Linked DNA regions of Homo sapiens: all the other regions are linked to region 4. The links are contacts of gene promoters, found by promoter capture Hi-C in blood cells and fetal thymus (Javierre and others, 2016). All regions are on one chromosome and are shown on one strand. Each heading gives the region's core, a stretch centred on a gene start or on the middle of the fragment in contact. The rest is flanking DNA. Distances are from core to core; before and after follow the strand shown.

What was found. Contacts are between HindIII fragments. The CHiCAGO score rates a contact against its expected background, and 5 or more counts as called.
Region 1: a contact is called between a fragment that was not itself captured here and the fragment with the promoter of SP9 in region 4, in 1 of 17 cell types (activated CD4 T cells). The highest score is 5.5, in activated CD4 T cells.
Region 2: a contact is called between a fragment that was not itself captured here and the fragment with the promoter of SP9 in region 4, in 2 of 17 cell types (total B cells and fetal thymus). The highest score is 10.8, in total B cells.
Region 3: a fragment that was not itself captured here is called in contact with the fragment with the promoter of SP9 in region 4 in 3 of 17 cell types (neutrophils, total CD4 T cells and monocytes); the score reaches 6.0 in neutrophils.
Region 5: a contact is called between a fragment that was not itself captured here and the fragment with the promoter of SP9 in region 4, in 3 of 17 cell types (fetal thymus, total B cells and monocytes). The highest score is 7.3, in fetal thymus.

Annotation. Positions count from the first base shown.
Region 1 is chr2:173,432,138-173,436,778 of GRCh38, reverse strand. It overlaps LOC105373744 (a long non-coding RNA gene), which reads left to right. Exons shown (of 4, transcript XR_923586.2): 4 at 786-1,304. Among named protein-coding and RNA genes, the nearest start is that of CDCA7, 80 kb to the right of the region's middle. The HindIII fragment of the contact is 3,090 bases long and covers 1,503-4,592 here.
Region 2 is chr2:173,347,167-173,351,859 of GRCh38, reverse strand. No RefSeq gene overlaps it. Among named protein-coding and RNA genes, the nearest start is that of CDCA7, 5.4 kb to the left of the region's middle. The HindIII fragment of the contact is 2,231 bases long and covers 2,263-4,493 here.
Region 3 is chr2:173,447,503-173,452,267 of GRCh38, reverse strand. No RefSeq gene overlaps it. Among named protein-coding and RNA genes, the nearest start is that of CDCA7, 95 kb to the right of the region's middle. RefSeq lists an enhancer at 938-1,007. The HindIII fragment of the contact is 4,778 bases long and covers 1-3,862 here.
Region 4 is chr2:174,331,616-174,336,225 of GRCh38, reverse strand. It overlaps SP9 (Sp9 transcription factor), which reads right to left and starts at 1,272. Exons shown (of 2, transcript NM_001145250.2): 1 at 1,113-1,272; 2 at 1-119. The coding sequence starts at 1,133. It overlaps LOC102724194 (a long non-coding RNA gene), which reads left to right and starts at 1,250. Exons shown (of 3, transcript XR_427194.5): 1 at 1,250-2,486; 2 at 2,601-2,669; 3 at 3,166-3,232. RefSeq lists an enhancer at 3,840-4,610. The HindIII fragment of the contact is 13,141 bases long and covers 1-4,610 here.
Region 5 is chr2:173,361,814-173,366,024 of GRCh38, reverse strand. CDCA7 (cell division cycle associated 7) reads right to left here. Exons shown (of 10, transcript NM_031942.5): 4 at 2,563-2,799; 5 at 2,130-2,207; 6 at 1,036-1,230; 7 at 433-573. Among named protein-coding and RNA genes, the nearest start is that of CDCA7, 9.0 kb to the right of the region's middle. The HindIII fragment of the contact is 1,295 bases long and covers 886-2,180 here.

The DNA.
Region 1 (4,641 bases), core at 1,798-4,297, 900 kb after region 4:
GAGGCTGGGCGCAATGGTTCACACCTGTAATCCCAGAACATTGGGAGGCCGAGGTGGGCAGATCACCTGAGGTCAGGAGTTCGAGGCCAGCCTGGCCAACATGGCGAAACTCTGTCTCTACTAAAAATATAAAAATTACCCAGGCATGGTGGCGTGCGCCTGTAATCCCAGCTACTCAGGAGGCTGAGACAGGAGAATCTCTTGAACCCAGGAGACAGAGGTTGCAATGAGCCAAGATTGTGCCATTGCACTCCAGTCTGGGCAACAAGAGCGAAACTCCATATCAAAAATAAATAAATAAATGTAACAGAGGAATGCAAGTAAAAAATTATAATGCAATGTGTTACGTGTTATATTGGAGATTTTGATAAGGTGCTCCAGGAGCACACACATACAAAATAACTACTACCAATACTGAGAAATCTGAAGTGTGTTGCGTTCTCTCTTTTCAGCAACTGGGAAATTCCCACCCTCTAATCTTCCACCACCTCCTGTTTCCTTCTGGCAATGGAGTCTAAACTCCTTTGTTCTGACTAGGTCTCTGTCACTGGCAAGTTTTAGAAATAAAACCACTAAGGAAATGACAAGTAACTACAATAAAGTCTTTGTTGTTCTCTTTCTTTACAGATTAGTTTTGTACATTCAAGACAAAAAACATTAATTCTTCTTCAAGTTGACCATATAATAGTAGATCAAAATGTTTGTGTGAACAATGAGTTTACTCTAGGGGAAATCTATTCACTGACTGTCCTACAACCTTTCTGTCTCTTTCTTCCCCACAACAGTTCTTCATCTTTAATCCCAACCCAAACAAGGCTGTAGATGGAACTCATCAACATCGTGACAGAGAAGGTCAATAATCTGATTGATGAGTTATCCATTTGACTCTCGGTCTTGTCCATTGTAGCCTCCTAAGATGAATATATCTCATTCAGCTTTTCTGGTAGGTGTCTTGTTTTCCCACATCTTAAAATAAAACACTTGTGTATGCATGTGTGTACATTTTGAGAGCACATGTATTAGAGTAAACTGGGACTCTACACCCTAACTTTTCAGTTAACATAGATAGGTTCTCTTGCATTACTTCTGCATTCACATTTCTTGAAGATAAGTCATTCTACAGATCTCCAAAAGGTTAAAGAAAGGCATCTGCAGTTAGAAACAGCACTTTGGGTAGCATATGCCTTCTTGATATAGAATTAACTTGAGCTATACGGCAAAACAAGTACCTTTCACCAAGAAAGAAAGTTTATGGAAAAAATAGAAGATTCATCAACTAAGAATGATGGATGATTGCAGAAATACTGAAGGAGGTATTAAATATTAACATTTGTAACATGACAATGTCTGTATTTTTATATTTTGCATAAATGAATCATTGACTACTAATATATTACTCTGTGTAATTATTCCCAGAAACCAGACGTCACACTATTGCCTCACCAAAAAAAACTGAAATCTTCTCAAGTCTGAATAGTGACAGAGTTGTCCCTCAAAAAGCTTATGGAGAACCTATTTTTTAATGCAGTAAATGCAGAACACTTCCCACATTCCCCTTGTGGAAGTTGAGAACAGGCTGTAACTTTTGAGTGTTTGGAAGCAGCAGAAGTGGATTAAACCCCAGGGACTGGAACTGCAGGCAGGACTGCTCTCAGCATCTGAAGTAATAGGAAAGAGAGGGGAAAACTCCCCTAACGGACATGTACAGAAATTAAGGGATCTTGCCTGAACCTCTCAAGTTGAGAAAGAATGGAGCGAGCGAAAGAACAAGGAAGGAAAGCAGAGACCATAGAGGCTGCAGTAGGCCATGCTGCATGGGCTCACAGGGCAAAACCATCTGGAATAGAACAGATTGTTTCAGGCTGCAAATGCTGCCAGGTCACAGGATTTCTGGGATTTCTCTCTATCCCCTTGGGCAGGCTAGAAATATAATTCTAAGTATAGTCATGGTAATTATTTTTATCTTTGGGTTGTAAACTAAGTGTCCTTAACCAAGGAAGGCAAATGGGTCTTTATCCATCCAATCTTGACTAGAATTTTAGAAGAGTAATTCTCTGTGGAGGAGAGAGAGAGTTAAATGGTCAGAAAGTTTAAGAAACTCATAATATCATCCCCTTCTCAGAGACATATAATGTACAGAGCAAAATAAAGTCCTTTAGGCCTATTTGAGTTGAAAAACATCTTGTTATCTCAGTAGTTTTCATATTAATTTGAGTCACAGAACCTTTTTTGGCTTGCATTTGGGAAATCATTGCTATAGTGTAGTGGGAGATAAGCCTCTTGTCTAGCCCTGCCGGTACCCACTTCCAGACCCATCACTCAGAGATGTGCAAATGTATAGCATGTTCTCCTCTTTCTGGGAAAGACCAGAATGCAAATAATTCTAACTGGGAAGTTAAGTGTCTTTTTCAGCAATGTCAGTTGGGTAAGGCTTTTAATGGGACCTATGCTTCTGCAAATTAGGTTTTCCTTAGGAAAAATGTTCCCTTACTAAATCTGGGTTTAGACAACACAGACTCCAGACAGGCCCTGTTGTCCTCTCTGGAAGTGCCCTCACACTGGAAGACTAGGATTGCCGAATCCCAACCTTGACCCTTTGACAAAAAATTCCAACCTGAGCAACTAACCCAAACTTTGGGAAATATATGACATCAAACCATTGAATTCTAGCATCTTTTAGATGACAAAGAGGAAGGTTCCAGGGATGGGGCTCTGCTAAAAGAAATAAATGTAACTCAAGTAACCATAATCTTGGGAAGAGAGCAATTCTTATGCAGGGAATGAGGAGGCAAATCTGGTTGAAGAATCTTTTCATTTCTCCTGATCTGTAAGAGATGGGCTCTGGACCCCAGGGCGGGAAACATAACCGTGCTACGTGTAAGGGGAAGAATGGCTGCTGACAGTCTAGAAAGAATGGTACTCAGGTGGGTATCCCTGTGATGATGGAGAGCCAGATGCTGAGAGCAGTCCTGCCTGCAGTTCTGGTCCCTGGGGTTTAATTCACTTCTGCTACTCCCAAACCCTCAAAAATTACAGCCTGTTATCAACTTCCACAGGGGGACTGTGGGAAGTGTCTGTGTCCACCACATTCAGGAGGAAGCAGGACAAAGAGGGACAGAGCCGGACACCAGCTGCGACAGGGGGAAGAGCAGGGTTGTGGTCCAGGACTGGACAACTGGATCAGGCAATAAACAAGCAGGAGACAGATGTGGAAATTACAAGGCTGGACAGACAACATGGGGTCTCAGATGAGTGTGATATGAACACCAGAGTGATGAATTGGGAACATTTGGGATATACCAACATTGCTCATCTATTTTTCTTTCCTTTTTTTTTTTTTTTTTTGAGATGGAATTTTGGTCTAGTTGCCCATGCTGGAGAGCAACGGTACGACCTCGGCTCACTGCTGCCTCCGCCTCCCAGGTTCAAGTGATTCTCCTGCCTCAGCCTCCAGAGTAGCTGGGATTACAGGCGCCCGCCACCACACCTGGCTAATTTTTGTATTTTTAGTAGAGATGGGGTTTCACCATGTTGGCCAGATTGGTCTCAAACTCCTGACCTCAGGTAATCCACCCGCCTTGGCCTCCCAAAATGCTGAGATTATAGGCGTGAGCCACCATGCCCAGCCCCTCGTCTATTTTTCTGTTGAATAAGAAAATAGAAAAGGCTCTAAGAAAATATCATCTTGACAGAAATGTCTATTAATAGTCTTCACAGCCAAGAATGACAATACAAATAGTAGTGATCAACATATAAAGGACAGTCCTTTACTCCCACGTATACTTGGAGCCAACTGCCTTTATTATGTCAGTGTTGATAAGGAATCGTTGCCTTGTTTCTCAGAGCCGTTTTGAAGTAAGCATGCTGTACACCTTGTGATTGGTCCCCTCCACTTCAGTTGGCAGTCCTCTATGCCTTCTCAATCACAGGGGATTAAAGAAGCAAACATTTTAAAAAACCAGAATGAAAGATGTTCCCCAGTAGTTCCAGAGATTTATTTTCTCTTCTTTACAAAAGAAGATATTCTAGAAGATAAAGCCCAGAAGGTCCTCAGGTCTGGCAGAAAAATGTTCTCCTGTTCAAATATATACCTACTATAGATTCTCTGTCTTTTAAATTAACATTATAATTTAACTGTCTTATGTACAGAATAGTAGTGAAACAGCCGACCAAACTGAACTTGATACTAGATATCATGACTCATTAAAGAAAAAACGCAAGTAACTCTGTAAAATTGTGTAAACACAATTTAAAACTAGCTGGGGCCAAGGCAAAGGCAACAAGGCAAAACCAAGCAGTGTTAACATTTAGGACACCGTGAATATTAACTCAGAGTCTGCTACTCACTGGGGAGATCTGTGGGCCAGTTTGCTTAAATTCAGAGCTAAAAACACCTTTTTAAAATGTCAAACATGCATAGGATATAAAGAAAAAGAACAAGGTGGAGGCAATTAGCAAAAATAGAAAATTGGGGAAGTGAAATTTTGGCATTTGTATTTTGATCTCATGCAGAGATAAGTGGAGCTGTGAGTCAACTGGGCACAGGGACGTCGTGTCCAAGGCTTGCCTCACATGGTTGTGCTACAGAAGCTTCCATGGGGGGCACGTATGTGGTCAGCTTCTGATGGTATTGGCTGCCTG
Region 2 (4,693 bases), core at 2,129-4,628, 990 kb after region 4:
TATTACATGAAAGTACAAGGTGAAGTAGCAAATTATTCAGAAAACCTAGCTAAGCTAATTAATGAAGGTGGCTACACTAAACAAAAGATATTCAAAGTAAACAAAACAGCTTTCTGTTGGAAGAAGATGCCATCCAGGACTTTTATAGCTAGAGAGAAGTCAATGTCTGGCTTTAAAGCTTCAAAGGACAGCCTGACTCTCTTGTTAGGGATGAATGCAGCTGGTAACCTTAAATTGAAGCCATTGATCATTTACCATTCCACGTTCTTAATTCCTTAAGAATTATGCGACACCTATTCTGCCTGTGTTCTATAAACAGAACAACAAAGCCTGAATGAGAGCACATCTGTTTACAGCGTAGTTTGCTGAATATTTTAAGCCCACTCTTGAGACCTGCTCGGAAGAAAAGATTCTTTTCAAAATATTACTGCTCATTGACAGTGCCCCTATTCACCCAAGAGCTCTAATGGAGATTGATGAATGTTTTCATGCCTGGTAACACAGCATCCATTCTGCAGTCCGTGGACCAGGGAGTAATTTTGACTTTAAAGTCTTATTATTTAAGAAATACATTTCATGGCTGGGCACGGTGGCTCATGCCTGTAATCCCAACACTTTGGTAGGCTGAGATGGGCAGATCATGAGGTCAGGAGATGGAGCAAGTAAATAATGCCTGAGGACATGGGCATCCTGGCTAATATGGTGAAACCTTGTCTCCACTAAAAATACAAAAAATTAGCAGGGTGTGGTGGTGGGCGCCTGTAGTCCCAGCTACTCGGGAGGCTGAGGCAGGAGAATGGCGTGAACCCAGAAGGCAGAGCTCGCAGCAAGCCAAGATTGCACCACTGCACTGCAGCCTGGGCAACAGAGTGAGACTCCGTCTCAAAAAAAAAAAAAAAAAAAGAAATACATTTCATAAGTCTGTAGCTGCCATAGATAGTGATTCCTCTGATGGATCTGAACAGAGTCCATTGAAAACCTTCTGAAACGGATTCATCATTCTACATACTATTGAGAAATTTGTGATTCCAGGAGTTTACATTCTAGTAGGAGAGCAGAAGTAAACAACAACAAAAAAATAGTTTCAGGTGTGCTAACTTCCGTGAAGAAAAATAAAAGCAAGGTGAAAGCTAAAGACAGGACAAGGGGAGAGAAAATGAAAGAGGTACAAATTTAAATAAGAGAAACAGAAAAGGCTTCTCTGAGAAGGTGACACCTGAGGAGGAACATGAACAAAGTCAGGAAGGAAGCTACAGGAAGAAGAGGAAAGTGCTGGTTTCAGGCACAGTACACAGCTGGCCCAAAGGCTGTAAGGCAGTGCACAGCAAGGCACACTACAGAAAGCCAGGCAAAGAGGGAGAGAGCCCAGATCATGTGGGACCTTCTTGGCCATGGGAAGAACTTTGGATTTATTCCAGATATGATGGGAAGTCATTGAAGGATTCTGAGAAAAAGAAAGACCCAATCCGACCCCATGAACTGTGTGGGTCGTAAACTGAAGGAGAGCCAAGAGTGAAAGCTGGGAGACCTATGGGCTCCTGGAGAAGCAAATGATGGCTTGGACTGGGATAGTTGTGGGGTCAGATGAAGTCAGATTTAAGATATATGATTATTATAAAAGTTAGAGCTAACTGGACTTGAGGGATGGATGGTTCATTCATATTAGCATTATGTATCATAGTAAAATACTGCAGTCAACATGCCCCTCAGAAGGGAAATGGATACATGAACAGTGGTGTATTTGTACAATGGAATCTGAACAGTAGTTCAAATTAATGGCATAGCTTACTGGCATCATTGTAGAGAAATCTTAACAGTGTTCAATGAAAAAGCAAATAGTAAAAGTGTCTGTAAAGTGTACCCTTTATGCAAATTTTAGAAACACAAAACATACCTAAGTTGGGAGAGTATAAAAACCTAGACAAGCAGAATAGCACAGAAATTAACTTAAGGTGGAAAAGATGGAGGAAAGAGGCAAGGGTGGGTCCTTTGATTCTATTATTAATGCTTTCTTCTTTTCTTTTTCTTTTTTTTTTTTTAAAAAAAGGCTGGGTCTTGCTATGTTGCCCAGGCTGGAGTGCAGTGGTGTGATCATAGCACATTACAGCCTCCAACTTCTGGCCTCAAGTGATCCTCCCACTTCAGCCTCCCACATAGCTGGGACTATGGGTGTACATAACTGCACCCAGCTATCATTAATGCTGTTAAATTAAGTTTAGCCTAAAGCCGCCTCCTTACATATTTTAAGTTCAGCCTAAAGCTTCTCCATACACAATGAACTGTAACCCAACTGGGTATATAAACAGACTAACTTACTCTTGTACCAACCACCATGTTTTGGCCAGTCAAGGGTGACCAACTGTTCAAGCTGTGTTCAAATAAGGCAAACCCTGAGCTGTAACCAATCCAGCTGTTGGTGTAATTCACTTCTGTTTTCTGTACCTCACTTTTTCTGTCCATAAATCTTTTTCCACCATGCAGCTGCTCTGGAGCCTCTCTGAACCTACTCTGGTTCAGGGGATCCCCGATTTGCAAACATTCTTTGCTCCATTAAACTGCTAAATTTAATTTGTCTAAGGTCAGTGCTTTAACAATGCTTTCTTGAAAAATAAAAACCATGGGAAGCAAATATGGCAAATTGTTAAATGTGACAAATGCCAGTGATTAGTACATGGGTGTCTTTTACATGTTTACTTTCTGTGCTTTTTTTTTTCTTTTTTTTTTTTAATCTGAAACATTTAATAATTTTAAAATATTTAAGTTTTGGAGAGTTTGTTCTGACAATCAATATCAATATATTTATTGTGTTAAATATACAGTTCCTTTACAGGGTCCTATAAATAGGAATGCAAGTTTGTCATGCAATTTTAGATGCCTCATAAAGGTTTTAAGTCACTGTATTAATCACACACTGGTAAATATTTTCATTTTAAATGAAAGACACAAAATGAATAAGCATGGAAAATCAGTGTCCAGGGAAAGATGATGGCACAGGCCACAGCAAAAGGTAAAAGGAAATGACATTTTATAAGTACATACTTACACAGACACTACTTGATATGAGGGCTGTTAATACAACAGGTACTCAGTAAATACTTATTATATTTATAAGTATTATTTGTATAATTTAATTTAATTATTTTTTAAGTTCCAGGGTAAATGTGCAGGATGTGATGTGCAGGTTTGTTACACAGGAAAATCTGTGCCATGGGTGGTTTGCTGCACCTAGCAACCCATCACCTAAGTATTAAGTCCTGCATGCATTAGCTATTTTTCCAACTAAAGTGGTTGTAGGTGGAATTTTATTTTATTTTTACATTTTTTCTTTTTTGAGACAGGGTCTCACTCTCACTCAGGCTGGAGTGCAGTGCTCAAGCCATGGCTCACTGCAGCCTCAACTTCCTGCGCTCCAGCAATCCACCTACATCAGCCTCCCAAGTAGCTGGGGCCACAGATGTAGGCCACCACATCTGGCTAATTTTTCTATTTTTTGTAGAGATGGGGGTTTCGTCATGTTGCTCAGACTGGTCTCGAACTCCTGGGCTCAAGCAATCCGCCTGCCCTGGCCCCTCAAAGTGCTGGGATTACAAGCATGAGCCACCATCCCCAGCCCTGGAATTTTAAATCTTCAAAATATTCTAAAATATCAATCTCTTGTTAAAGAGCTTTGAATTCCCTGGGCTACTACAAACCCTAAGAATTCTGTGTTTCTCTATACCTTTTATTCACCTTGCACAAAGAATTCCATTTCCTATTATTAAGTTTGAAACTTGACTGTGAGGTTCAGAGCACTTACATAATGAGGTAAGTTAAACTTCAACTCAGAATGACTGGTTTTCGGACAAAGAATGCAACCGCTAATAGCATGTATCATTTTTAGATGAGATTTAGAAACAATGCTAATGTTTCATGTGCTGCTCTCGGTCCCATGCACCCATCTCTCAGGCGGTATAACATGAACCCAAGCGCCCCTGTAAACCAGAGACCTTCAATAGACCAGATACCCCTGGAGACAAAGGGCTGGAGCAATTTCACTGTGTTTGTGGATATAGACAGTTTGCAGTCTGTCAGGTCACAAATCTCTGTTTTAAATAACCCCTAATTACAGATTTACGTCTCCAGTGCCTGCTTTCAGGATGCATAAAGGCAATATAGCTAAAAGGCCTAACGTTAGGCTTCAATTGTCAAAAGCTGCTCTGTTGGAGGGCCCAGCCCATTATCACCCTGGCTGTTTGGTTCACAAATGCTGGCTCTCCAAGCCATATTGGTATGTTTGTTTTGCATTGTATGTCAACACTGTTTTAAGTAGATCAGTTTGCTGACATCTGACACCTGATTAGAAAAAGGAATATGGAAAAATGAGTGCAAATCTGACCTTTTTTTGGCAAGAAGAAATATTTGTTTTTCCGTGGATGAACATTGTCTATTGTGAAATATATTAACTGCTAGTGTTAAAACATCATTAAACACTTTGCACAAGGGAAAGTCAAGCTTTGATTACTGAATCAGTCAGTTCCAACACTATGGAAGCTGAATTACAGCCAAAACCTAACTCAGCTTACTTCTTACCATCCACAGTTTCCCTGTCACTTGTTCACCTTTCCATAATTTCTTTTTTCCATTTGGCAAAGTTTTTGTCTGTTTTTATGTAAGAATTTTTCATTGTTTTTAATTTGATCATTTTTTTCTCTGG
Region 3 (4,765 bases), core at 224-2,723, 880 kb after region 4:
AATGACAGAGCCCTAGGTTGGTTTTCCACGAAGCGCAATGCAATTTGTCCGACTTAGTTAAGGAATATGATAATGCCCTAATTATCTGTCTAAGATGTGCCCTGGATATTACAGAGGAGACAAAGGATAAAGAGTGGCAAACCATGAATTATCCGAAATAATCCATATTGTTAAAGGTTGGCTCCTGAGAAAGTCTGGTCACTGGCAGCTTTCTCATTTGCCATTCATCTATTGTTAATTTCATCTTTTGTATATATTCAAATTTTTTCCCTGGGTTAACATGTGTTGGGAGAATGTCTCTTCTTGTTCCCTGCCATTGTAGGAGGCATGTTTTTTTGCAACCAGCAGCTTTCCATGCCTTTCTTTTATTTTGGTAACTGGACGTAGAGTGGGCCAAGAAAGCATCAACCCACTGCTAATTAAACAGATTTATCCAACTGGATATTGTTAGGAGAATTTAAAATATAAATTGATGAGTGCTTGTTTGGTGCCATTTGAAGTAAAAACTGAAAGGATTTATGGGCTGAGAAGAAAAAGTCTCAGTGTCTCAGATGAAAGCCAGAAAATTTAATGAATTTAAATGTATCCCACCAGGGTGGCCATATTTCTTCTCACTGTGAGACACTGATGCCTCTCAAATTAATGGAAGCAAATTACTATCTTAATCTGACAAATCTATCACTGTTTTATCAAATCAGTTTGCTGGCTCTCAAATAGATCGGGGGAAATAGTAGAGGAGTATCAATGGACTTCTTTCAAAAGAGTCGTGGGCACCCAATACTCTAAAAGACCGTCCTGAGCTCTGCTGTCTTAGACTCACTTCCTCAGACAGAGGTCTTTATGCAAAAATACCTGTAGGAACAAACTCTAGGCAATACCACACTCGAAGCCCACAGAGGGCTGGACCTCTGCCAGCATTTTCTGTCTGTTGCTCTACCTTTTCCGACATAATGAATCTGTGGCCTCCAGAGAACATTTACGAGGACTGTGAACACAGGACGCCTGTGGGGAGACCTGGCTCTCCTGAGCAGCTTTCACTTTATATGCGAGCTCCTTTGCAAGCCAGACCCCCATGCAGCCTGTTGAGAAACCACATTGCCATAACTAACCCGTCAAGTAAATTCTACCACCCCATGGTGGAAATGCTCAATGTGTCTACTCCAAACCTTCTTTGTGGAAATACTTGTGCCATTTATTTGGAGGCATCCTATAGCAAACCGAAGCGTTGGGGATTCTGTAGCCATGTGGAAATGCATGTGCTTCTGTACTTACTTCCATGATGACAGAAGCCAACCACGTAAGTGTCACAGAAACACTGCCATCTCTGCTTCTCTGGCAAATTGGACAATTAAGGCTTATTTCCTACAAGTATGTCTTTCTTTCTTAAGTTGTGTGTTCTTAGTACTTAAAAATGTTTTGATAGTTAGCCCATTAAATATTACCATTCTGGAGGTGGAATTTGCTTTAAAATGTTTCTTTTCCCTTTTTTTTTTCTTTTTTTTTTGCTTCTGCTCTATTCATATACTCTTTCATATTTTCTTTCCTTCTAGTTTTTCTTCTTTTCTTCAATACACTCTCCTTCCTGCCTCTTTCGGAAAAATCTTCCTGTCTTCTTGTCCTTCCTTCCTTCCCTCTTTTCCTTTCTCATTTCATTCTGTTTTTCTTTCTAGTATTTTTTCTACTGCATTTTTCTGAGTTAAGAATAAATCTAATTACTACGATTTTTTAAAAAGATAATTATTTTAAAGCAAACTATTAACTGTTCCTGTAAAAAAATGGTCTGTTACAATAAGCTCTGTGTTTACAGTTTAAAATTTATTTTGGAATAATCAGTGTCTGCATTTGTAAGTTCTGTTCATTTCTCTCTCTTTGGTATTGTACTAATAGCCACTTCATTATCATTTTAAATAATTCTTTGGTATAATTCATTATTAAATGTTGTTTTGAGAATTGTTTTCTCCAAGACTATTTTATTACCATCATGAAATTCATTTAATTAGTATGCTTGTAAAATTAGTACAAATTTTAAAAATAAAATGTAGAGATGTTACTAAGACTCGTTGCTTTAAAATATACTGCTGTCTTTTGGCGGGGAAATCTCAGAACATGAATAAAAATATTAAGAGTATATATGTTCTTCAATCCAGGAATCCCATTGCTAGGACTTTATCCTAAGGAAATACAAATATGGCAAGCATTCACCACTAGAATATTTGTTACAGCACTGTTTATAATAGCTATAAAGTGGAAATAACCTCAATGGCCCAAAACTGAATACTGGCTAAAAAAGTTAGGGTCATCCATTATATAAATTATCATACACCTGTTAAAAATTATATTGTAGGCCGGGCACGGTGGCTCACGCCTGCAATCCCAGCACTTTGGGAGGCCGAGGTGGGCGGATCACGAGATCAGGAGATCGAGACCATCCTGGCTAACACGGTGAAACCCCGTCTCTACTAAAAAATACAAAAAAATTAGCCGGGCGTGGTGGCAGACGCCTGTAGTCCCAGCTACTTGGGAGGCTGAGGCAGGAGAATGGCGTCAACCCGGCAGGCGGAGCTTGCAGTGAGCCGAGATCCCGCCACTGCACTCCAGCCTGGGCGACAGAGCGAGACTCCGTCTCAAAAAAAGAAAAAGAAAAAAATAAATATACATATATATATATATATAGTAGAAGAATATTTTTCATCATATGAGAAAATGTTTTGAGTATATTTTGAAGTAAATAAAACAGTTTACAAAATAAGATACATGTTGTGATCTCAGTTTAGTAGTACATTGCCTCTCACCTCCAAATCTACTTTCATGACCTGTTTTGCTTTCATAGGCTGGACCCTTCAAGCATTTTTTCCTTTGCAGCGAGAATGAGGTTTAGCTTGTCGGTAGAGGGCGCAGGAGAGACACTGCAGGAGGAAGAAGCTACCCCACGAGCCCCGCCCAAGGTTCCCGGACGTCCGTCGGACGGCCGTTGTTTTTCTACTTGCTCCTAGCGCACCACTGCCAGAAGCCTCTGCCCCTGCCACACACCCAGAGCATGCAGTTTCTCTGCAAGTTCTCAGAGAGCCCCAGCCGGTGACCCCCAACAGAGACACCACTCACCCCGGGCCTCTATCTGTCCTGCCAACAAGATGACTCTTTGTGCCCTGGCTGTCTCTGAGGACCTGCCCTGCAGACATATGTTCCCCCTTTTCCCTGCAACCATGCACCAGTTCTGTCTCAGGCAGCCAGGAGAGCTCCACCATTCAATGGAGCTGAGAATCTCTTTTCCCTCACTGTCTGAATCCGTCGTGGGGAAAAGGACCTCCTTCAAAGTGGTTCCTCCCGATTTTCATCCTCAGCCCTAGGATATTGTTTAGAGCATTGTTTTCACCTTCCTAGTTAGGCCTACGTTATAGTTAACAATTATTTATAATAAATTTTCCCTGTTCAAATTACTGTGTGGTTTCTGTCTCCTGATTGGCCTATGACTAATAAACATGTTTATGTAGAAGAGAGGAAAAAAAAGACTGAAACAAAAAGCCAAAACGTTAACAGTGGTTAACTCTGGGTAGTATAATTAGAGGTTGTTTTTATTCTGGCCTTTGTGATTTGCGATATTTTCCATAATATTTTGTAAAGAGCTTTTATTTCATTTACTTATTTTAGTTTCTATTTCTAAGACTATTGTGCTACCTATTTACCTGTGTAGCAAACCTGCATATTCTGCACGTGTGTCCCGGAACTTAAAGTAAAATAAAATAAGATTATTGTGCTAGCAAAAGTTGAGTCTTGATAGTATATGTTGTTGCTACAAAATTCAGATTCAAAACCAAAATGATCGTGTTAGTTTGTCTTTTCAGTGAGCAAATTGGGTGAAGCTTGCCTGACAGTGGGACCACACAGAGCCATGTAATTCCTACTAAGAACTGGCCTCTATACAGGGATCACCCACTCTCAGCTCCCTGAACCTTGGGTTTTAATGTCTGAACTCTGGTTTTAAAGTCAGCCTTTTAAAAAAATTTTTTTCTTATTTAACTGAAATTGCTGATCTCTGTATCATTCCAATTTTAATATATGTGCTGCCAAAGTGAGCACTAAAGTCACCCTTTTAATGCAAAAGTATTAAGAACTGTTTTTGTAAATAGTACGGCGATTTTTTTATTTTTATTTTTATTTTTGAGACAAGGTCTCACTCTGTCACCCAGGCTAGAGTGCAGTGGCATGATCACAGCTCACGGCAGCATCAACCTCCCAGGCTCAGGTGATCCTCCCACCTCAGCCTTCCTAGTAGCTGGGACTAGAGCTACAGCCACAGCCACACGCCACCATGCCCAGCTAATTTTTTGTGTGTGTGCGGAGATGGAGTTTTGCCATATTGCGCAGGCTGATCTCAAACTCTTGGGCTCAACTGATCCACCTGCCTTGGCCTCTCAAAGTCCTAGGATTACAGTTGTTAGCCACAACACCCAGACCAATGATTTTTAAGAGTACTATATTCATCTTGAAAAATACATCATGCAATGTTATTGCAGCCTTCTGCTTTTTAGAGAGACATTTCTATACAAATAGCAAATTGGCTTGTTGCTGTTTCAGCAGAAGTACCACTAATGTAAGAAGGAAGCCATGGTAGGCAAAATTCAAAGATAGCTTTCCAGATACTCAGCCTGCAGTACACACTCCTTCTCCCAGTTATTCAATCAAACACTGCCATGAAAGGATTTTTGCAAATGTAATTAAGGTCCCAAGCCAGTTGACCTTAAGATAGGAAGATTATCCCAGCGGG
Region 4 (4,610 bases), core at 23-2,522:
AAGCCGCCTTTGGCGAAGGCGCTCGACTCTGGCAGCGTCGTCAGCGGGCTCGTGTTGCCGATCTTGTTGCAGGTCGCCGCCAGCATGGCCAACGGGGTCGTTCCGAAGCGCGGCTCTTCCTAGAGTGGGTGGGATGGGGGAGGGAGCAAGAAGGAGGAGGGCAAGAGGAAGTGGGGGAAGAAACAAAGTGCACCCGTGAGCAGCCTCGTCCCCTGCGGCTGCTCCCGGGGGGTCCTGGCTCCCCGCCTCGCGCCTCCTCCCCACGCGCCCGCGGAGGAGTCGCCGCACCGGGCGCGGAGCAGGGGCGATCACCCGGGCGAAGGTCCAGGCGCCGGAAAGTTGCACTTCGCTGAGGCTATAAATCAAAGATGCCTCCGTGTTCCCCGCTGCAACCCTGCCTACAACCGGACTTGGGTTGTCGCCGTAAACCGGCTCATCTCCCAGAAGACCCCAAGTCGCCCTTCGGGGTGAAGCGCGAAGGTAAACACAGAGACCAGAGACAACAAACACCGGGTGAGGGCGGAGGCGGCCGAAACAGCTGCCAGGGACGGGCGAAACTTGCAGCTCTCCCAGGGTGGCTACGACTTGACTTTTCTTTTTTAATAGAAAACGTTTGGTTTTAAAGTTTACATACACACAAAAACAGCGATTATGAAAACAATAATCCGAGGATAAGCGGCCAGAGACAGATTTCAAAGTCATGGGCGAATTGGGGAGCCGCGGAAATGTAAATGTTTATTAGCGTGACTAGATGGACTGCAAAACGATTAAGACTGTTTTCTGGAAACACCATTGTCGCATAATTGCAACAAAATCCCCAAAGCAATGCGGGGGATGGGGTATAAATCACGAGGGGAAGAAAAGAAACCTCTAGCTTTTTTTTGAAACCAAATGAAAAAGGACTTGATTAAGAAGGCCTTTTCTTGCAAAGGCATCTTTCTGGGTTCCAAAAACTTGGGGAAAAATCAGTCCCAGAAATGTGGAAAGTGCTAATAGAAGCTGAAGCTGCAGTCTAGCAGCAACAGTTTCTCCGGAGCCGCAGACCCCAGAAGCCATAACGAAAAATTACTCCGGTTAAAACAAGCAAATGCGTTGCCGCGCTTGCGACTTACCCCGAGTATAGACGTGGCCATAGCAGGTCTCTGGCTGCGCAGCGAGGCTGGGAGCGGGGCTGAGCCTGGCGGCTGCTCGGAAAAACTGCTTGGGTCCCGCGCGGCTCCCGCGTCCCCGCGCTCGTGCCGAGCGGACTCCAGGCTCCCGCCGGCTAAACTCAGCCTAAGTGCGAGGAGCACCCGCTTTGAAGTGCCGCTGGCTGCGCCTCTCGCCCAATGAGGGCGCAGGCAGAGCAGACCGGAGCTGCCCCGCAGCCAATCAGACGCTCCGAGGGGCCCGAGCCCGGGCTCCCGGCGCGTGCCAGTCAAGTCAGCTAGCTAGGGCCGCGGGGGTGGGGGGGAGTAGTGGGGGATACTTGCGGGGGGGGGGCGAGGGCGGGCTGGGGACTGAAGAAATTACAGTGCAATTAAAAATTTACACTCACGCACCAAGCCAGGTTTAAGTACCAATGAAACCGAGCCACAAGCACCCCCCCACACACAAACCACCCCGAGATGTTGCAAGTTAGGGCTGACAGTCCTACTCGACTCCCCACTTGTAGGAAAGGAGGCAGGAGGGGAGGAGACACCCAGACACAGCCCGCACCAGCAGGGCCCAAGTGGAGACGGAAATGTGAGCCCTCACTTTGTGTGTCCAGGCTTTTGCCTACAGAACACAACTTCAGCTTGTATCTATCATTCTTGCTTGTGATTTTTATCATTTTCGTGTGTCTTCTACCCAATTCCTTATTCCACTAGATTCAATTTCACTCTCACAGTTATACTGGGGAGGGGGCGCGAAGGGACAGCTCCTCCGAGAGGAGCGAAATAGGCCTCTCTGTACAGATCTACATCCACAGATTTGTTGGGAGGGCCTGGAGCCTGCTGCATCCCGCCATTTCCCCCCAGCGGTGTAAGTGACTTCCTAATTGTCGCTCTGGCCTCTGACCCGGGGGGTAATACAAGTGCCACTCACGCTAGAGGCTTCTGGTGGTAATTGAGGGCACCCTTTGTACGGTTTCGCCAGCGCTTAGATACCAGGTTAACCCAGTTGTCAAATATGACTAAACAGTGGGATGTGCTGATTATCTGCCGGGTTTTGCTGTGGGCTGGCATGGGGGTGGGAGGCATCAGCCCATACAACACGCTGCACGAAGCCGCTTATTTTCTCACTGTAACAACTTTGGAAACAGAGACCGGCGCGAGCGGCGTCCGCCCCCACCTCCACCTCCGCTGAAGCTGCAGCTTGCTCGGCTGTTTGTTTAACCCGGTGAAGATTTGCATGTCGCGTTTCATCCTGGAGTGGAGTTTTCTTGTCCCAGCTCCAACCCACTCCCATTCCAGACCACCAGGGCCTAGAGGCTCGTCCGTAGGGCAAGTGCGCTGTTTTAAGAGGTAGGCTCCCCATTAGTGCCCTGCTTTCACGGACGCGCCCGAGAAATCTCTCCAGGACTTTCACCCGGGAGGGCGGAGGACCAGGCCACACGTGGGCGCTTCCACATTTTGCAGGCTGGAAGCATCCTGAAGTCCTCCCTGGACCTTGTCAGTGTGAAAAGAGGCGTCCTCAAGCAGACCAGGGTGCGTCTTCGAGTCCCCCAGCAACCGCTGACCTGCTTGTTTTTCTCTTTCTGGGCCCCGCTTTCTCTTTCTTCTCCAGGGTAGCCAGAAGCTGTTTTTGAACCAGAAATACCAGCGCCCTCGGGCAGACCTGGGCACTGGTTTTAATATAGCACACTCCCCACTAAACCCACACCCTGCTTCTTAGGAAAAAAAAAAAATTAAACTACCAACCCCAAACCCTCGGGTGCAAACGACGAGTTGTCGCGGAGCCGGTGCAAGTGACAAGGATGTGGAACTGTGCCTCCCGTGTTTTCTCTCCTCTTTTGCAAGATCTCTTGACCCAAAAGTACGACCAGAGTGGCGCTGCTCTCGGCCCTGTGATGGAGCCTGGGTGCGTCTTGGCGCACTCCGTGGGTGGGGAGGGCTATGTGGGTCGCTTTCTTGGATTCATCTTAAAATACTTTGGCTCAGAATGGGTTTTTTTTATTTTATTTTTTTCTCTTTTTTGTTTAAGGTGGCGAAAGCACCAAGGAAATTATGACAGAGAAAGAGAAGGAACAGAGGAGAAGAGAAAGAGAAGGAACAGAGGAGAAGAGAACGAGAAGGCTCGTGTGGCTGTCAATGAAGTGCTGTGCCCTGGGAGACTGTAGTGGAAATGGGGGTGGGGAGGTGTGAAAAGTCCCTGAGGGACGCTGGGTGGAGGGCTGAGGAGAAATCAGGCCGCCTAGAAGAGCCGGAAAGCCCAGCAGGGGGACCCGGGGGCCGTTCCCAACAGGTGACTTCTGCCCTGGAAGAAGACACTGGTTCTCGGCTTCCCATAGAGTCTCCGCGTAGATTTACTAATAGAGGGATTGTTAAGTGGCAGCGAGGCGTTTCCTACTCACCCTGTGCAGCCGAGGAGGAGAAACGCAGAGGTTTCCCCAGTCCACCTCCTCCCCCACCCCCAACACACCCTCTCCTTAAGGAAACCTGACAAAGTAATAAATAAGACAATCCGAAAAGCCACTTAGCACTAGTGACATTTTCAAGCCAACCATTTAAAACAGTTCTCGCAGACACCTCGGGCTCCGGCGCCCTGCTCGCCTTCCTCTTCTCCTCCTCCCCTCGGATCCCCTCCCCTCCCCCTCCCGCCGTTTTCCCCGTAGTTCCAGCTGTCAGACTCTAGACGTGGGCACTCGCATATTCCTTTAGATACACGCGTCTGCATCACAATAAAAGTTAGGGAAATCTTCCAAACGAACGCAGGCAAACACCCGGGCCACTTCAACTCTAAGGTGGGGCCCCAAGGAAATCTTTCGGAGGAAGTCCAGATTTTTTTCGTCTGACAGATTTTTTTCATCCTCTAAAAAAATCTAGTTTTTAAACAAAGATCAATGTGTTATGCTAAAGTGTTGAGCTGACTGTTAAAACATTTGGGGAAATAATGACAATGTAACAAAGGCCTGGTTTGGAGTGAATCATCACCCTTTTAAAAGTTAAAGCAATTTTCAGGAGAATAGCTTTCAGCAAACGCTTTACATTATTCAAAACGGCCAAATAATGCTCTATTATAGCGCCTGAATGCTGCCAGTCAGCCCCTAAGTGCAATTTGTGCAAAGGCCCCGGTGCCTTATCTCCACTTCTTTATAAAGAGGTGAATATAAAACAATTTCTTCCAAACCCAGACAGAGAGCACGAAAATTGCTTCCCTTTCTGCAATCAGGGCAATTTAACTGGAGTGCAATTAGCACTATTAAATGTCGATTCTGCATAAACAAATCTGACTGAGCAGCGAAAGTGGGGTGAGAACCTCATATACACTGAAACTGATTTTTTAAAATTATGTATCCGGGTCCTTTACAATTGATCCGTGACGTTTTCATCTTGGAATATATTTACATCATAAATACACTATGGTTAAACCAACATAATTTTTTTGCAAAAAAATTCAATACGATTCCTAATAAAGAAGAATAGGGT
Region 5 (4,211 bases), core at 284-2,783, 970 kb after region 4:
GGCAAAACCCCATCTCCACTAAAAATATAAAAATTAGCCTGGTGTGGTAAAACCGCTTTCCCTTTAAGAAAAGGTCTTATTAAAAAATAACCTACCCAAATCCACTTTTATCTTTGGTGTACCACCACACTCCAGCACCTAGCTATGTATACACACATAATAGATATGCAGTAAATATATGTTGAATGAATTGATTTCTAAATTAGGAGAAAAGATTTACCATGACTACAGACTTACTAAGCAGATAATTCCACTGTGAAAGAGGGCTAAATCCCAGGGATACTGTAAAACTTTTCCTTCCTTGTGTGAAAAAAACATATAGGTACAGATTTCACATGCTAGGCCCTTTAGAACCTGGGCAACGCTTAGGGACAGAAGCTCTCTTCCTCTCACAGATGTTTACATTCTCAGGTGTAATTTAGAGGCTCTCACCAGTGAACGGTTATATATCTTCTCTCGAGAATTGCTGCAGACGTTCTCCAACTCCTCCTCTGTAATTTCTTCCACTGGGCGAATTATATGCGGAAGGGTCACGGATGATCTGGAGCGACGGCTTCTGGGCAGGTCATCTTCCTGCATTACAAGGAATACAAAACACAGAACTTCAAAACTGAAAAACTGAAAGAGATTCAAAACTGAAAAAACAGATTCAAATATGAAACACAGAGATTCAAAACTGGCTCTCCCCAGCTTTGAATCTCAGATACTTGACTTGTAATTTCTTCACACAAACTTCAACCTGGAAATCTCTCCTAGAGCTTATGGTAGGGGAACAGGCCATACGCTTACTGTAGCCTAACTGGACATTTTGGAAACGATGCCTACAATTAAGAAGAGATGAAGAAAACCCAATTCTCGCCTGCTAATAAAATTACCAAGTAAGCTTATGTGACGTTTACAGTTCTGAATGGTTAGAGGAAAACATTTACTATGGATCGCCTGGTGTTAAGGATGTGCGTGTACCTGTGCTGTGTATGATGCCAGGCCTACCGAAGATGAGAATCAGAAGAGCAAGTACCAATGCGGAGAACTCACATTCATGTAGCCATCCACGGTCTTCCTCTTTCTCACCAACATGTACTTATCCTCTTCCTCCTCCTCCTCCATGGGTAGAGCGTCAAGGGACCCGAGGATCCGGGACCTTGACCTGGTAAGAGGACGAGCTCTCCGTTCAGGGTTTCTCCTGGAAGCAACACCCGGGAATGTACGCCTTCGCGGTCTCCTTGATTGCTAAACAAAGCACGTATAAGGGAATCCATTTATTCCATAATAAAGAGAAGTAGTACTTTGGGGAATTCATAGCTTCTCCTTAAGGATGTTTTAAGTAAAGAGAGCTCTATTTTTTCTTTTTCTTTGTCCTTTGCATAATGCATGGCAAAATGAGCCTAAAACCTATATGGCCATCTTAATTTTGCTTTTGTAATACCAAGCCCAGTTTCTTTCAACTTGAGAGATGAGCTATTTATTCTTTTACTTAATGAAGATGTAAGAAATGATCTTCTGTTCTAAAAAAAAAAATTTTCTCTGATGTCTCTTGACCCTGTAGAAACACATTCAGTTTCTACACTGCAAAATAGAGGGATATCTGTATGGCTTCCCTCTTTCCATCTTTCCTTTCCTCAGGGAAAGCCAGGAAAAAGAAATCTTTTCTATCACAGCAGACACACCAAATCTCCCTAAGTTGTACCACCTTAATTCCTCAGAATGCAATTGTGTATGATACCAAGCTACAACTTGATAAGAAATTGTGATTTTCTTCTTTTATTTTCATTCTCCAATTTTAAAAACATCTATTGCACATCTACCATGTAGGAGGAATGTGCTCACACTGGAGAACAGAAAAAAGTTTTCAATCTTCATTACCTGCCCATGAGGGGCTTAGTCTAGCTGGGAAGGAAAGAAAGAACCAATCAAAAGGAGTTTAGTGCCACAGGAGCACAGCAAGGAGAGACCAAACTGCCCAGGATTCAAGGAGGATCATCCAGAGATCTGTCAGGGGGTTTCCTCTAGGTCCCCTTCGTTTGTCTAGAAGGCCACACAAATAAAGAAATTAGATTTTTAAATACAACACAGATCGACCTTAGGTGTGCCCAAAACACTACTGTATATAAACAAGAACTGGTACTTACTGAGTCGGAGCCTGGGAGGGGATGTCTTCCACGGAACGAGCCAGGGAAGCTTTCTAATTCAGACATGAGTTTTGCAAGCTAAAAAGGGAGGAAATTAAACTGATATCATTGGCTTAGAATAACTGTCGAAAATGAGCAACTAACTTCTGGAAAATACTCAAGTACATCTCATGGTTTTATATTTGATAGTAAGCTGACACATTCAGAGTTTCTGATTTCCCCTATACACTTAACCAGGCCTTTAACAGATTTAAAAAAAGTAGTTCAGGGAAAGAAACACATTTTGAGGCACACATTGAAGACTTCACAGGTAAACAAAAATAACTTTTTATTCATGTAACAGAAAAAAATAACTTTTGCGTGATGGAACAGATTTAAGTAATGAGTCGCTTAGAGAGGAAAAATTAATTCTAACACAAAGTCAGATACCTACCATTGCTTTGTTTTGCTTTATATTTAAAGCCCTTTTCTCCAAAAAATTCATTCCACTTTCATCTTCTGAATCGGAGTTGGAATCAGTCACAGAATTCTCTGAGGGCTGGCGGGACTCTGCTTTTTTGTTGGTTGCTCCCCTGGTACTCCGCGCTGGAAACTTCATCGCCACCCTGAGAGGTCCAGAGTGCCTGCACTGGCTGCGGGTCCTACAGCCTTCCCGAACTGACTGCAGCCTCTAATCACAACAATTGAGTCATTAGGACTTGATCAGCAGACAAGCTGCATCAGTATAACTACAAAGTCCCTTTTCAATGAGACACTTGTATGAAATGAATTTTAACTGAACATTGATACCTCTGGGTAACAAAATCAGGAACCACAAAGAGTACATCAACAGAGTGCAGTTTAATTCCATGTAGCCCATCTGGACCACACTGTTATAAGCTATTTTCATAGTCCCTAGGCCTGTGGTTCTGAGCCTTTTTTTAAAATGTTAAAATTCCTACCACCTGCTTTTCATTTCTTTAGAAACAGATCTTTATGTATTTTAAAAGAATTCTGACAAGAACAAATGTGTTCTCCTGGCTGGGTGCAGTGGCTCACATCTGTAATCCCAGCACTTTGGGAGGCTGAGGCGGGTGAATCACTTGAGCCTAGGAGTTCGAGACCAGCCTGGGCAACATGGTGAAACCCCGTCTCTGCAAAAAAAAATACAAAAATTAGCTGGGCATGGTGGCGCATGCCTGTGGTCCCAGCTACTTGGAAGGCTGAGGTGGGTGGATGGCTTGAGCCCAGGGGGCAGAGGCTCAGTGAGCCGTGTTCGTGCCACTGTATGCCAGGGCTGGGTTACAGAGCCAGACCCTGTCTTGAAAAAAAAAAAAAGGGAAAAAAATGTGTTCCCCTATAAATATGGCTTCAATGTTTATGGCAATATTAAATTATATTAACAGATCTCAATTCTCTACTTTAAAAAATATATAATATAATATACATAAGATTTATCATTTTAACCATTTCTAAGTATACAAGTCAATGGCATTAAATACATGCACATTGTTGTGCAGCCATCACCACCATCCATCTCCAGAATGTTTTCATCTTCTCCAACTAAAACTCCATCCATACCCATTAAACAGTAATTCCTCATTCCCTCTTTCCCTCCGCCCCTGGCAACCATCATCCTATTTTCTGTCTATACATTTGACTTCTCTAGGTACTTCTCTAATCTACTTTTAGAAGTTCAAAATGAAAATATTTCCAGATTCCAAAAGTAATATAGGTTTTCATCATTAAAAATTTATCCAAATTAGCCATAGGGTAATGTAAATCAAAATCACAATGCAAGGCTGGGTGCGGTAGCTCATGCCTATAATCCCAGCACTTTGGAAGGCCGGGGCAGGCGGATCACCTGACGTCAGGAGTTTGACACCAGTCTGGCCAACATGGTGAAATCCCGTTTCTACTAAAAATACAAAAATTAGCCAGGCACAGTGGCACACGCCTGTAATCCCAGCTACTTGGGAGGCTGAGGCAAGAGAATCGCTTGAACCCAGGAAGCGGAGGTTGCAGTGAGCAGAGATCACTGAGACCACACCACTGCACTCCAGCCTGGGCTACAGAGCAAGACTCCGTCTCCGAAAAATAAAA